Regions from separate parts of the Homo sapiens genome. Here regions 2 and 3 are each linked to region 1. Evidence: promoter capture Hi-C in human tissues and cell types (Jung and others, 2019). All regions are on one chromosome and are shown on one strand. The core of a region is centred on a gene start or on the middle of the fragment in contact, and the rest is flanking DNA. Distances in the headings are between cores, read along the strand shown.

Region 1 (3,537 bases), core at 243-2,742:
CCTACTTTCCATACCCAAACACCCCCCCAAGAGTGTGTGTGTGTGTGTGTTTGTGTGTGTGTGTGTGTGTCCTATTTAATTCCTTCTCCCCTCCCCCATTTCTACCTCTGGATTTGTAGGGCAGTTGAACATTCCTTTTCTACAACGTGCATTCATTTAATGGAAAACTTTTACTTAGTTGGCTTCAGCCTTTCCTTTTCTAGGATAAATCAAATGGTTTTCGTTCCGCACCCTAACGAGGCAAGAAATGACAAACTCCTCGGTCCCCCTAGGCGGGCGCCGGAGCACGACGGGTCAAGTCGGAATCGCCACGTGGAAACAGCTCTCAGCATCGCGAACTCCAAATCCCGACGTGCAACGCGGGGCGGGATGGGAACAGTTTGCAGGAACTGCAGAAGCCTGTGGCGTGGAACCTGGACAGGTCCCGTGCAGAAAGGGCGCTATGCCTTACAGAAAAGTTCCTTGCCTCCCAAATGACGCCCAGCCTTCCTGCCCCGTTCCACCGCTTTCCCACGGCCCCGCCCCTCTACAGAGTTGGTTTATTCCCCGCAGCCACCGCTTCTTTCCCCAAAGAGAAAAAGGTGCTGCTGCGCCTTTTCAAGCCTTGGACCTTTACGCCCGCACTTTCCTCTGCCCAGAAAGCTTACTGCTTAACTCCAGTACAACTTACTGGTGCGCCTGGATCCACCCCCGTCTCCACTCTGCTTAAGACACAGGAGGCTGATAGGCTGGAAGAATGAATAGATGACATAAAATAGTCATTGTTATCCCCACATAACTTGGCAGCAAGATTGTGGAACTCTGCAGTCAGACAGATCGGGTTCCAATACCAGTTCTTCCACTTACTAGCTGGGTAAACTTCCTTCATCCTTCTGAGAGTTCAAGAAACGTTTGCTGAACGAATGAATAAGATGTTTTGCAGAGATAATGCTTGTATCGTGCCTGGCCCAAAATCAGCGCTCAATGGAATTACTGGTCTCCCTACTATATGCCTGCCACCTTCTCTATTTATGCAGGTTCTGAGTTCCTCGCAGCGGGGGAACATCTGGCTCGGTTCTATCTCCCCAAGGCGCTGGGTTCCCAGAAGTTTCTAGAATGAATACGGAGGGCTACATATTTCACATGCGCGGGGCGGGGAAACTGCTGGGCGATTACAGATTCCCGATGGAGCTGGCCCCTTCGTGGCGACCACAAGTCCTATCACGCCACAAGAATCTCGGCTTGTTCACCTACAAATGAAGGCCGACGATACTTGCAGACCGAGTCTGACATCTATGGGACCCCACTCCTACCCTGCGCCTCAGGGGCCGGGACAACCGTGACCCGTACCGACTCCTCGCGCCTCCGGGATCAACCTCAGACCCCTGTGGGCTCCCGGGGAAGACGCATGCGCACTGCTCCCTCCTCGTCTCCTTCCCTTCGTTAATTAGTCCATCGCATTTCAAGTGCTGGATCCTTTTTGTCCCCTACTGCGTGCGGTGGCAGCTTCCTTGCGGAAGTGGTGACCGTGAGAGAAGAAGATGGCGGCCCCTGTAGTGGCGCCGCCTGGTGTGGTGGTTAGTCGGGCTAACAAGCGCAGCGGCGCGGGGCCGGGAGGCAGCGGTGGCGGGGGAGCCAGAGGGGCGGAGGAGGAACCGCCGCCGCCCCTACAAGCAGTTCTGGTGGCCGATAGCTTCGATCGCCGCTTCTTCCCCATCTCCAAGGACCAGCCTCGGGTGAGCGCCGCGCACGCGAGCAGCCAGAGGGCAGGAAGGGTGGCAGGGCTGGAGCAAGTTCTCATTTCGGCTAACTACAACAGCATGCCCTTGAAGGACCTGCGTCTATGCTGTTATCCTAAAACCGGATGCAGAGGGACTGTCTAAACCCTGATGACTGCTGACCAAGTTAGTGGCCGGCAGATTTGGGCATTCGTAATGCTGTCCACCTCGGGTTTGAAAGGAATGAAGAGAGCTAAATGTAGAAACAGCGCTTGAGAGAAGCCTTCACGCGGGGATTCAGTGCCCCTAGAAGAGGCTGCGCCGCTTTTAACCTTGCCGATGACGGTTGCTTAGGTGAAAAGAAACGACCTTTTGCCTCTGAAAGGGCGGTAATATGCCTTAAAAAGAGCGGGCTAGATCTCAGGCAGTGTATTTTTTTTTTCCTTCCAGGTTCTAATGATAGCCGGTGCTATCTGTCGAAAGGACAAAATGGGTTTAGTGGTTGATTGCCATCAGCCCCCGAGTTGTCTAGACAATGGGGTATTGGACTCAGCTGGGTCGTTCAGCAGTCAGTTCAGAAAGAGGGAACTGCATTGGATTTAAGGAAAATCCTCTCTAATTCCCTCGAAAAAGCCTAATGGCTGTTCATTTTTGACAAGTGACGGGAGATGGCTAACCTCTGACACTTAGAAAGGGATCAAGGAAGGAAATCTTATGGGGAAGAAGGCCTTAGCAATGCTTAAATTTATGGAAATATGATTGATTTCCAGTATTATCCTTTGCCAGCAGTGAACTGCCATTCTGTCACAGCTCTGTGTCTGATACAAGGCACATAGATTCTGTACTTACCATCCCCAAATTGCAATGTCTCAGACTCAGGCTTAGAGCATGGCATGAACATCAAAGGCAGGAACCTGTTTATCTTTGAATTGGAAAGATACAGCAAAATTACACTGTTTGGAAATACGAATAGAGGAGTGAAAATTGTTGCAGTGGGGTACCCAAAGGGATTCGAGACCTCAAGTTTTTTTTCATCTTGTATCCTTCAGGTCCTCTTGCCCCTGGCCAATGTGGCATTAATTGACTACACTCTGGAATTCCTGACTGCCACAGGTGTACAGGAAACATTTGTCTTTTGTTGCTGGAAAGCTGCTCAAATCAAAGAACATTTACTGTAAGGCCCTGCAACTTTTCTTTCCATGTTTCGCCATCTTTTTCCAGTTTTTTCAGGATGAATGTAACTAAGGGGAAATGTGAGAGGGGAAAAATGTGTCTACTTAGATGTCATTGTAAGTTCTAAGGGTATTTTCTACACTTATCAGGAGGTGAGCAGCTGAAACTTTGTATCTGTCTGTCTTGGGTTTTCTGTGACAAAGATTAAAGAATAAACTTGGGTTTTTTCTGAATCTCATTATAAAGTTTGGTGCCAGTGGACTTTGCTTTTATTTAATGGCTTCAGTATGGAAGTTACAATGATAACATCTTTGTTTTCCCACTGAGTTTCTAAATCTTGTTTGTTCTCACCTTCAAGGATATAAATGAGCTCCTTGTCATCTTTGTATTCCCACTGCCTAGCTCAGTCCCAAGCATATAGTGAGCACTTACATGTTTGTTGAAATCTTGAAAACTAGGGAATCGCATTGCTTATGGAAGTCCAGGATGTAAAGACTAGGACATTAGCATGGTCTCCATCAGACAGTTCCTAAATGTTATATGGATTGCAGAAGGGGAAAGCTGACGTGAAGCGTGTTCCCAGGCTACTTTGTGTACCCTAGGCTTCAGCAGGATTTTGAGTTCAAATTGATGTTTAGGGACAAGGGGTCAAGGTATGGAGAGGAAA
Region 2 (4,092 bases), core at 1,098-3,597, 140 kb after region 1:
ATAAACTGCTTAGGTAAATGTTGGACTATAGAAATGTTATTATTATACAGAAAAACATAAAGAAAAAATAATGCCATCACTAGATATATTTATAATTAATATTTTGTTGTATGTACTCCTAATCTTTTTTGCTTTTTTTGTTTGGTTGGTTTGTTTTTCTTGTTTTCTTTTTTTTTTTTAAGGCAGAGTCTCGCTCTGTCGCCCAGGCTGGAGTACAGTGGCGTGATCTTGGCTCACTGCAACCTCTGCCTTCCGGGTTCACGCCATTCTCCTGCCTCAGCCTCCCGAGTAGCTAGGATTACAGGTGCCTGGCTAATTTTTTGTATTTTTAGTAGAGACGGGGTTTCACTATGTGGGCCAGGCTGGTCTCGAGCTCCTGACCTCGTGATCTGCCCGCCTCGGCCTCCCAAAGTGCTGGGATTACAGGCATGAGACACCACGCCCGGCCTTGTTTGATTTTTGAGATAGGGTCTCACTCTGCCATCCCTTCTGGAGTGCAGTGGCACAATCATAGCTCACTGCACCCTCAATTTTCCAGGCTAAAGTGATCCTCCCTCCTCAGCCCCCTGAGTAGCTGGGACTACAGGTGCATACCATCATGCCCAGCTAATTTTTTTTAAAAATTTTTAATAGAGATGAGGTCTCACTATGTTGCCCAGGTCTCGAGCTCCTGAGCTCAAGCAATCCTCCTGCCTTGGCCTCCCAAAGTGCTGGTATTACAGGCATGAGCCACTGTGCCTGGCAATTCCAATTTTTTTTTTAACCTATGCTTTTATACCTTCTGCTTAACAAAAATGAGATTTTGTAACCCTTTTTCTCCTCCGCTTAACTGTATGTGGGGAACATTTTCCCACAGCATAAACTCTTCTTGTCTATCATTTGTAAATGTTGCATAGCATCTCATCATATGGATGTTTAATTCAACAAGCCCTCTACTCTTGAACATTGAATTCCCTCCTAATTTTTTGTTTACGATTATAAATAGTGCTGTGATGAACAAATGTCGTAGGAAAAAAATGGCCACATTATTTTGTACCTCCTCCAATCAAGAAGTAGCATCTATTTCTCCAGCCCTGAATGGGCTTGATCATGTGACTTGCTTTGCCCAATGTGGACGTTGGTAAATGTGTTGCAAGCAGAGGCTTGAAAAAAGTGTTTATGGCCAGGCACTTTGGCTCACCCCTGTAATCCCAGCACTTTAGGAGGCCAAGGCGGGTGGATCACCTGAGGTCAGGAGTTCGAGACCAGCCTGGCCAACATGGACAAACTCTGTCTCTACTAAAAATACAAAATTAGGAATGGTAGCACATGCCTGTAATCCCAGCTACTCGGGAGGCTGACACAGGACAATCACCTGAACCCGGAGGCAGAGGTTGCGGTGAGCCAAGATCGCACCATTGCACTCCAGCCTGGGCAACAAGAGCGAAACTCTGTGTCAAAAAAAAAAAAGTGTTTATGGCCGGGCGCAGTGGCTCACGCTTGTAATCCCAGCACTTTGGGAGGCCAAGGCTGGTGGATCACGAGGTCAGAAGATCGAGACCATCCTGGCTAACATGGTGAAACCCCGTCTCTACTAAAAATACAAAAAATTAGCCGGGCGTGGTGGCGGGCGCCTGTAGTCCTAGCTACTCCAGAGGCTGAGGCAGGAGAATGGTGTGAACCCAGGAGGCGGAGCTTGCAGTGAGCCGAGGTCGCGCCACTGCACTCCAGCCTGGGCGACAGAGCAAGACTCCATCTCAAAAAAAAAAAAAAAAGTGTTTATGTACTGGGGCTTGCCCCTTCTTTGTTGCTGAGAATCTTAAGGCCACCATATGAAGAAGCCTGGGCAAGCCTACTGGAAGAGGAGATAATACACAGAGACACTGTTCAGGCATCCCAGCTGAAGCCCAAAAATGTAAATGAAGCCATTCTAGACCATGCTAAACCATCCAGCTCCTGCTGAGCTGGCCAATCCCAAAAAATCACAGAACATGAGAAATAATCAATGTTTGTTATTTTAATCCAGTTTGAGATGATTTGTTACACAACAAAAGCTAATTGATAAAACTATCCCATGGATAATGATTATTTCCTGGAACAATTTCCTAGAAGTAAATTTTCTGGGTCAAAGAGTATGCACACTTTCATACCTTTTGATTCATATTGCCAAAAAGGTTGTATCAACTTCTAAGCTACCAGCAATGTATGAGTGTTCATATCTTCCATCTTTATCTATACTGGACTTTGATGTTTCTTTTGTTTTTGAGATGGAGTCTTGCTCTATCGCCCAGGCTGCTGTGCAGTGGCGCCATCTTAGCTCACTGCAACCTCCATCTCCCAGATTCAAGCAATTCTCCTGCCTCAGCCTCTGGCGTAGCTGGGATTACAGGCACCCGTCACCACGCCCGGCTAATTTTTGTATTTTTAGTAGAGACTAGGTTTCACCATGTTGGCCAGGTTGGTCTCAAACTCCTGACCTCAGGTGATCCGCTCACCTTAGCCTCCCAAAGTGCTGGGATTACAGGCATGAGCACCACACTGGGCCTCATCGATGTTTCTTGTTATCTTCATGACTACATTGTGTTTGTAAATTTAACACACAAGCCATTGTCCATTCCCTCTCAATTCACAATCAATTTAGACCAAAAAAAAAAAAAAAAAAAGATTATCCATGTAGGAAAAAAGACCAAAAAAAAGATTATCTATGTAGGAAAAAAGATCAAAAAAAGATTATCCATGTAGGAAAGGAAGAGTAGAAAAGAGAGAGAGAAAATAGGAGAATAAGAGAGAAACAGAGTCAAAGATGAAAAATACAGAGAAAGAAAATAGAAATATAAAACAGAGCAACCTCCAAGACTCTTATACATAGGGTATTTAACATGTAGTCGGAAATAGTTATGGGGGGCTGGGCGTGGTGGCTCAGGCCTACAGTACTTTGGGAGGCCAATGCAGGAGGATTACTTGAGCTCAGGAGTTTGAGACCAAATTGGGCAACATAGTGAGACCTCATCTGTATAAAAAAAAAAAAAGGCCAGGTGTGATGGAATGCACCTGTAGTCCCAGCTACTTGGGAGGCTGAGGTGGGAGGATCGCTTGAGCATAGGAGGTTGAGGCTGCAGGGAGCTCTGATAATGCCAGCCTGGGTGATAGAGCAAACCCTGTCTCTAAAAATTGGAAGGAAGGAAGGAAGGAAGGAAGAGAGGAAGGAAAGGGGAGGGGAGGGGAGGGGAGGGGGGGATGGTTACGGGTCTAAAAATAATTTGGGTCATGAAAGAGACTTGAAAAGAAAATGCCCATTTAGGCCAAGCCTAGTGCATCTGAGAGCAGTGTAAAAATAGGTAACAGGCTCTATCATATGTGGTTGCATTTAATTCTCACAGCAACTCTCTGAGACAGGGGTGATTATTCCCATTTTATAGATGAGAAAAATTAACAGTCAGAGCTTTCAAGTAACTTGATAAAGATGATACAGCTGATAAAGAATTGAGCCCAAATTTGAGCCCAAGTCTGCCTGTCTTGGAAATTTATGTATTTCCACTTATTCTTCCTAGAAGGGATGTAGCAAAACACTAGCAACTAATGCAGGGAGGAAGTGTAGCCACCTTTTGATTCATATTGCTAAACTGCACTCCAGAAAGGAACCATACTCCCTGGGTTTGAATCCCAGCTCTGCCACTTACAACCTGTATAACTCTGAGTGTTTCTATGTCTCAGTTTCCTCATCTGTAGAATGGCTTCATAAGTGTCATGAGTGCATAAGATGTAAACCACTTGGAGCAGTGGCTGCCACATAGTAAAGTGCTGTCTAAACTTGCTATTTGTAGTATGCTGTTGCAGTGACCCTGGGAATATTTCTAATGATCCTGTTGCCAGGTGGCCCATACGTAGTAGCTTTCATTATGCAATCATGCACCACATAACAACCTTTATGTCAATGATGGACTGCATGTATAATAACAGTGGTTTCATAAGATTATAATGCTGTAAGCCAGGCGCAGTGGCTCACATCTGTAATCCCAGCACTTTGGGAGGCCAAGGTGAGTGGATCACTTGAGGTCAGGCATTGAAGACCAGCCCGGCCAACATGGTGAAATCCCGTCTCTACTAAAAATA
Region 3 (3,153 bases), core at 1-2,500, 230 kb after region 1:
CTGGCCTCCACTCAATGGGAAACTGACTCGCCTGTGAAAGACACAGTGGGAGAGCTGAAAATGAATCAGAAGCTTTATGTATATGATTTTTAAATTAAACTTTACTTTTTCAGACTGCCCCTCCCCTTTTTGTAAAAAGTCCATTTACTGTAAAATCGTTTTTTCCAGTTTGTCTGTGGTGTATTGTTTCTGGCCCACAGCCAGCTGATCACTTGTCAATGTAGGATCTATTCCAGCCTTTTGGTATCTGGGTTCAGGGTTATCTCAGTCTCCTGGCTGACTGTTCTCAACATTTATCCTCCAGTGTGGTTTTCAGTCTGGGAGAGAGTTGTGCTTTTGGCTCCTGAGGGTACCCCAGGCCCAGAAGATACCACCCATTTGGCGCAGAATTTTGAATTGGCAAGGAGCCCTGCTCATGTCCTTCCAACACTTTCAGTCTCTTAGGAAGTCAGTTCATGCTGACTTGAATGAGTCACTTGCATAGTCTAGAAATGTTCATTATTTTTATGGAAGCTTTGGGTAGAGGCTTTTAGCTACAGGCATGGGAGATGACTATGAAGAGAGTAGGACGAGAGGACTTGGTGGTTCTGGAAGCAGCTGGAGGAGCTGGCTCTCTGCTCTACATTCCAGTGGTGACCTGGGAGGGAGGGTAAGTGGAAGTGGACAGGGCAGCAATACCAATGAAGTTGGCAGGCCAGAGCCAGGGCCAGTGCCAGGACCATGTAGCGGCCTGACTACAGTCACTAACTTATGAGTAGGGGAAGAAAAAACATTAAGGAAATGGCTATGATAAGGGCTCCAGCATGTGAGCTGGCTCTTCAGCTTGGCATTAGAGGTCTCTAGGAAAGCATATGGGGTTCTGTTTTCCCCTAGGAAGTTTAGGGTAACAATCCAAAAAGATTCTCTGTGCATTAAACAGTTGTCTGTTTGATCTGGTTTTGCCTGGGAGCTGGTCCCCTGCTGGGATACCTGGGGTATTTCCTTCCCCATCATTTTCGGATCTTCATGTGAGGTGTTAGAAATAGTATTTAGGGAAATGGGTTGAAAATGAATGGCCTCAGCAGGGAGGAGGAAGAGGTGTTTCTTTTACCTTACTATGGGTAGAGTAGGGGGAGGGAGTTGGGATGAATTTTTATGAAATCCTAGAACCTTTCCATGGGGTGGGTTTTTTTGTGGGGTTGGAGAACGACAAATGAGAGTGAGACAAACGAATTACAAGTAATAGTGTGTAGGTTATCATAGACTGTCCTGGCGGTCTTGGGGTAGCAGAAGAAAGAGAACTGGTAGAGCATTGAATAGGGATAGGAGTGTTCTGGTTGTAATTGTTTTTTTGTGTTAGTGGGAAGAAGGGATGGGACCAACCAGACTGATTTGGGAATGGGTTAGATTTGTAATAGGGCAGGTAAGTTCACACTGGAGAAGCCCATGAGTTACTCGCATTTGCCCACAAGTGGAGTAAGTCACATACCAATACCAGATGCCTGGAAGTTTCTGGTGACATTTGCAGTTTTGACATTCTATTTCTTTTTTTCTTTTTTTTGAAATGGAGTTTCGCTCTTGTTGTCCAGGCTGGAGTGCAATGGCGCGATCTCGGCTCACCACAACTTCTGCCTCCCGGGTTCAAGCGATTCTCCTGCCCCAGCCTTCCGAGTAGCTGGGATTACAGGCATGTGCCACCATGCTCAGCTAATTTTGTATTTTTAGTAGAGACGAGGTTTCTCCATGTTGGTCAGGCCAGTCTCAAACTCCCAACCTCAGGTGATGCACCACCATGCCCAGCTAATTTTGTATTTTTTAGTAGAGATGGAGTTTCTCCATGTTGGTCAGGCTGGTCTCGAACTCCCGACCTCAGGTGATCCGCCTGCCTCGGCCTCCCAAAGTGCTGGGTGTGAGCCACCATACCTGGCCCTAAAGTTTTGCCATTCTTGTCTCTCATCTGTCTGTGCTGGGAACCCATCATTCTCTGGTTCTATTGGTGTATCGTGTCCTAGGTGCTGGCACTTTCATGTGCTATAAAGTGTTTCATTTGATTATTAAATTTAACCCAGCTCAATATGTCAGTAAGTTAGTTTCCACTTAACATTCCCTTGACTGCATGCTGGAATTTGTAGTATGAATGAACTACTTCTCTTCCATGCAGAAACTGACAGCATTTGAGATTTGGACAACATTTTTGAGCTTTGTGCATTTGTTGATTCCTTCTCTAGGAAAACTATTCTGTCCGTGAAGGGAGAGAGGGACATGGGAAGATGTCTAAATTGGTCACCTCCACTAAGAACTTTGGTTTTCTACTCAGAACTCTTTTTTTTTTTTGAGATGGAGTCTCACTCTGTTGCCCAGGCTGGAGTGCAGTGGCGCGATCTTGGCTCACTGCAACCTCCATCTCCCGGGTTCAAGACTACAGGCGCTTGCCACCACACTCGGCTAATTTTTCATATTTTTAGTAAAGGCAGGGTTTCACCGTGTTGGCCAGGATGGCCTTGATCTCCTGACCTTGTGATCCGCCTGCCTTGGCCTCCCAAAGTGCTGGGATTACAGGCGTGAGCCACCGCGCCCGGCCTCAAAACTCTAACTGTTACTCCTTAAGGACTTGTATGTCTTTCCCAGTAAACAGAATCATTAAATGACATATAGGACAGTGTACCACACTGGAGAGAGTATGGACCCTAGAGTGAGGTCAGACTAGGGTGTTTCTTCTCCTGCCCACAGGGCGTGTAACCACTGATAACTCACCTGGCTTCTCTGAGCCTCAGTTTCCTCATCTCTAAAACAGAAAAGATAATACCTACCTTACAGAGTTGTGTGAATGTTACAAAAGGTAAAGTACACGAGGTTCCTAGCACATTGCCTTTCATTCTGCTGCTTTGGAATGCCTTTGGTGACCCTGGGGTATTTGTGGCAGTGTTTGGGTTTCTGGGTTCCTGGCTCCTCTACCTCCGTGGTAGCCTTTCCTTCCTCAGGGGTCGGGGAGAGGAAGAAGCTTCCACTAGTTTTCCTACAGGAACCTCTGGAGGTAGCAGGTTGATTTTTGCAGTGGAATTTGTGTTTTTGTGCAACACAAACCTTTTCCTGAGCACCAAGGCAGCACTTATTTGCAAAGCCCCATAAGCCTGACTCCTTTTTAGAGATCCCCTAGCAGAGTTTATGGTGGTC

The links. The method cuts DNA at HindIII sites, captures the fragments that hold promoters and counts their contacts. A contact is called where the count stands out against the background at its distance.
Region 2: a fragment that was not itself captured here is called in contact with the fragment with the promoter of EIF2B5 in region 1 in 3 of the 25 tissues and cell types used here (H1 embryonic stem cells, mesendoderm cells and small bowel).
Region 3: a contact is called between a fragment that was not itself captured here and the fragment with the promoter of EIF2B5 in region 1, in 3 of the 25 tissues and cell types used here (H1 embryonic stem cells, dorsolateral prefrontal cortex and spleen).

The regions. Positions count from the first base shown.
Region 1 is chr3:184,133,866-184,137,402 of GRCh38, forward strand. It overlaps EIF2B5 (eukaryotic translation initiation factor 2B subunit epsilon), which reads left to right and starts at 1,493. Exons shown (of 16, transcript NM_003907.3): 1 at 1,493-1,715; 2 at 2,747-2,871. The coding sequence starts at 1,521. It overlaps EIF2B5-DT (EIF2B5 divergent transcript), which reads right to left and starts at 1,396. Exons shown (of 2, transcript NR_183721.1): 1 at 671-1,396; 2 at 1-413. RefSeq lists enhancers at 1-523, 1,393-1,452, 1,773-1,842 and a silencer at 1,593-1,702. The HindIII fragment of the contact is 14,690 bases long and covers 1-3,537 here.
Region 2 is chr3:184,269,171-184,273,262 of GRCh38, forward strand. All of the region lies in intron 2 of EEF1AKMT4-ECE2 (EEF1AKMT4-ECE2 readthrough), which reads left to right. Among named protein-coding and RNA genes, the nearest start is that of ECE2, 4.8 kb to the right of the region's middle. The HindIII fragment of the contact is 8,798 bases long and covers 1-4,092 here.
Region 3 is chr3:184,368,425-184,371,577 of GRCh38, forward strand. POLR2H (RNA polymerase II, I and III subunit H) reads left to right here. Exons shown (of 6, transcript NM_006232.5): 6 at 1-167. Among named protein-coding and RNA genes, the nearest start is that of THPO, 8.2 kb to the right of the region's middle. The HindIII fragment of the contact is 4,081 bases long and covers 1-3,153 here.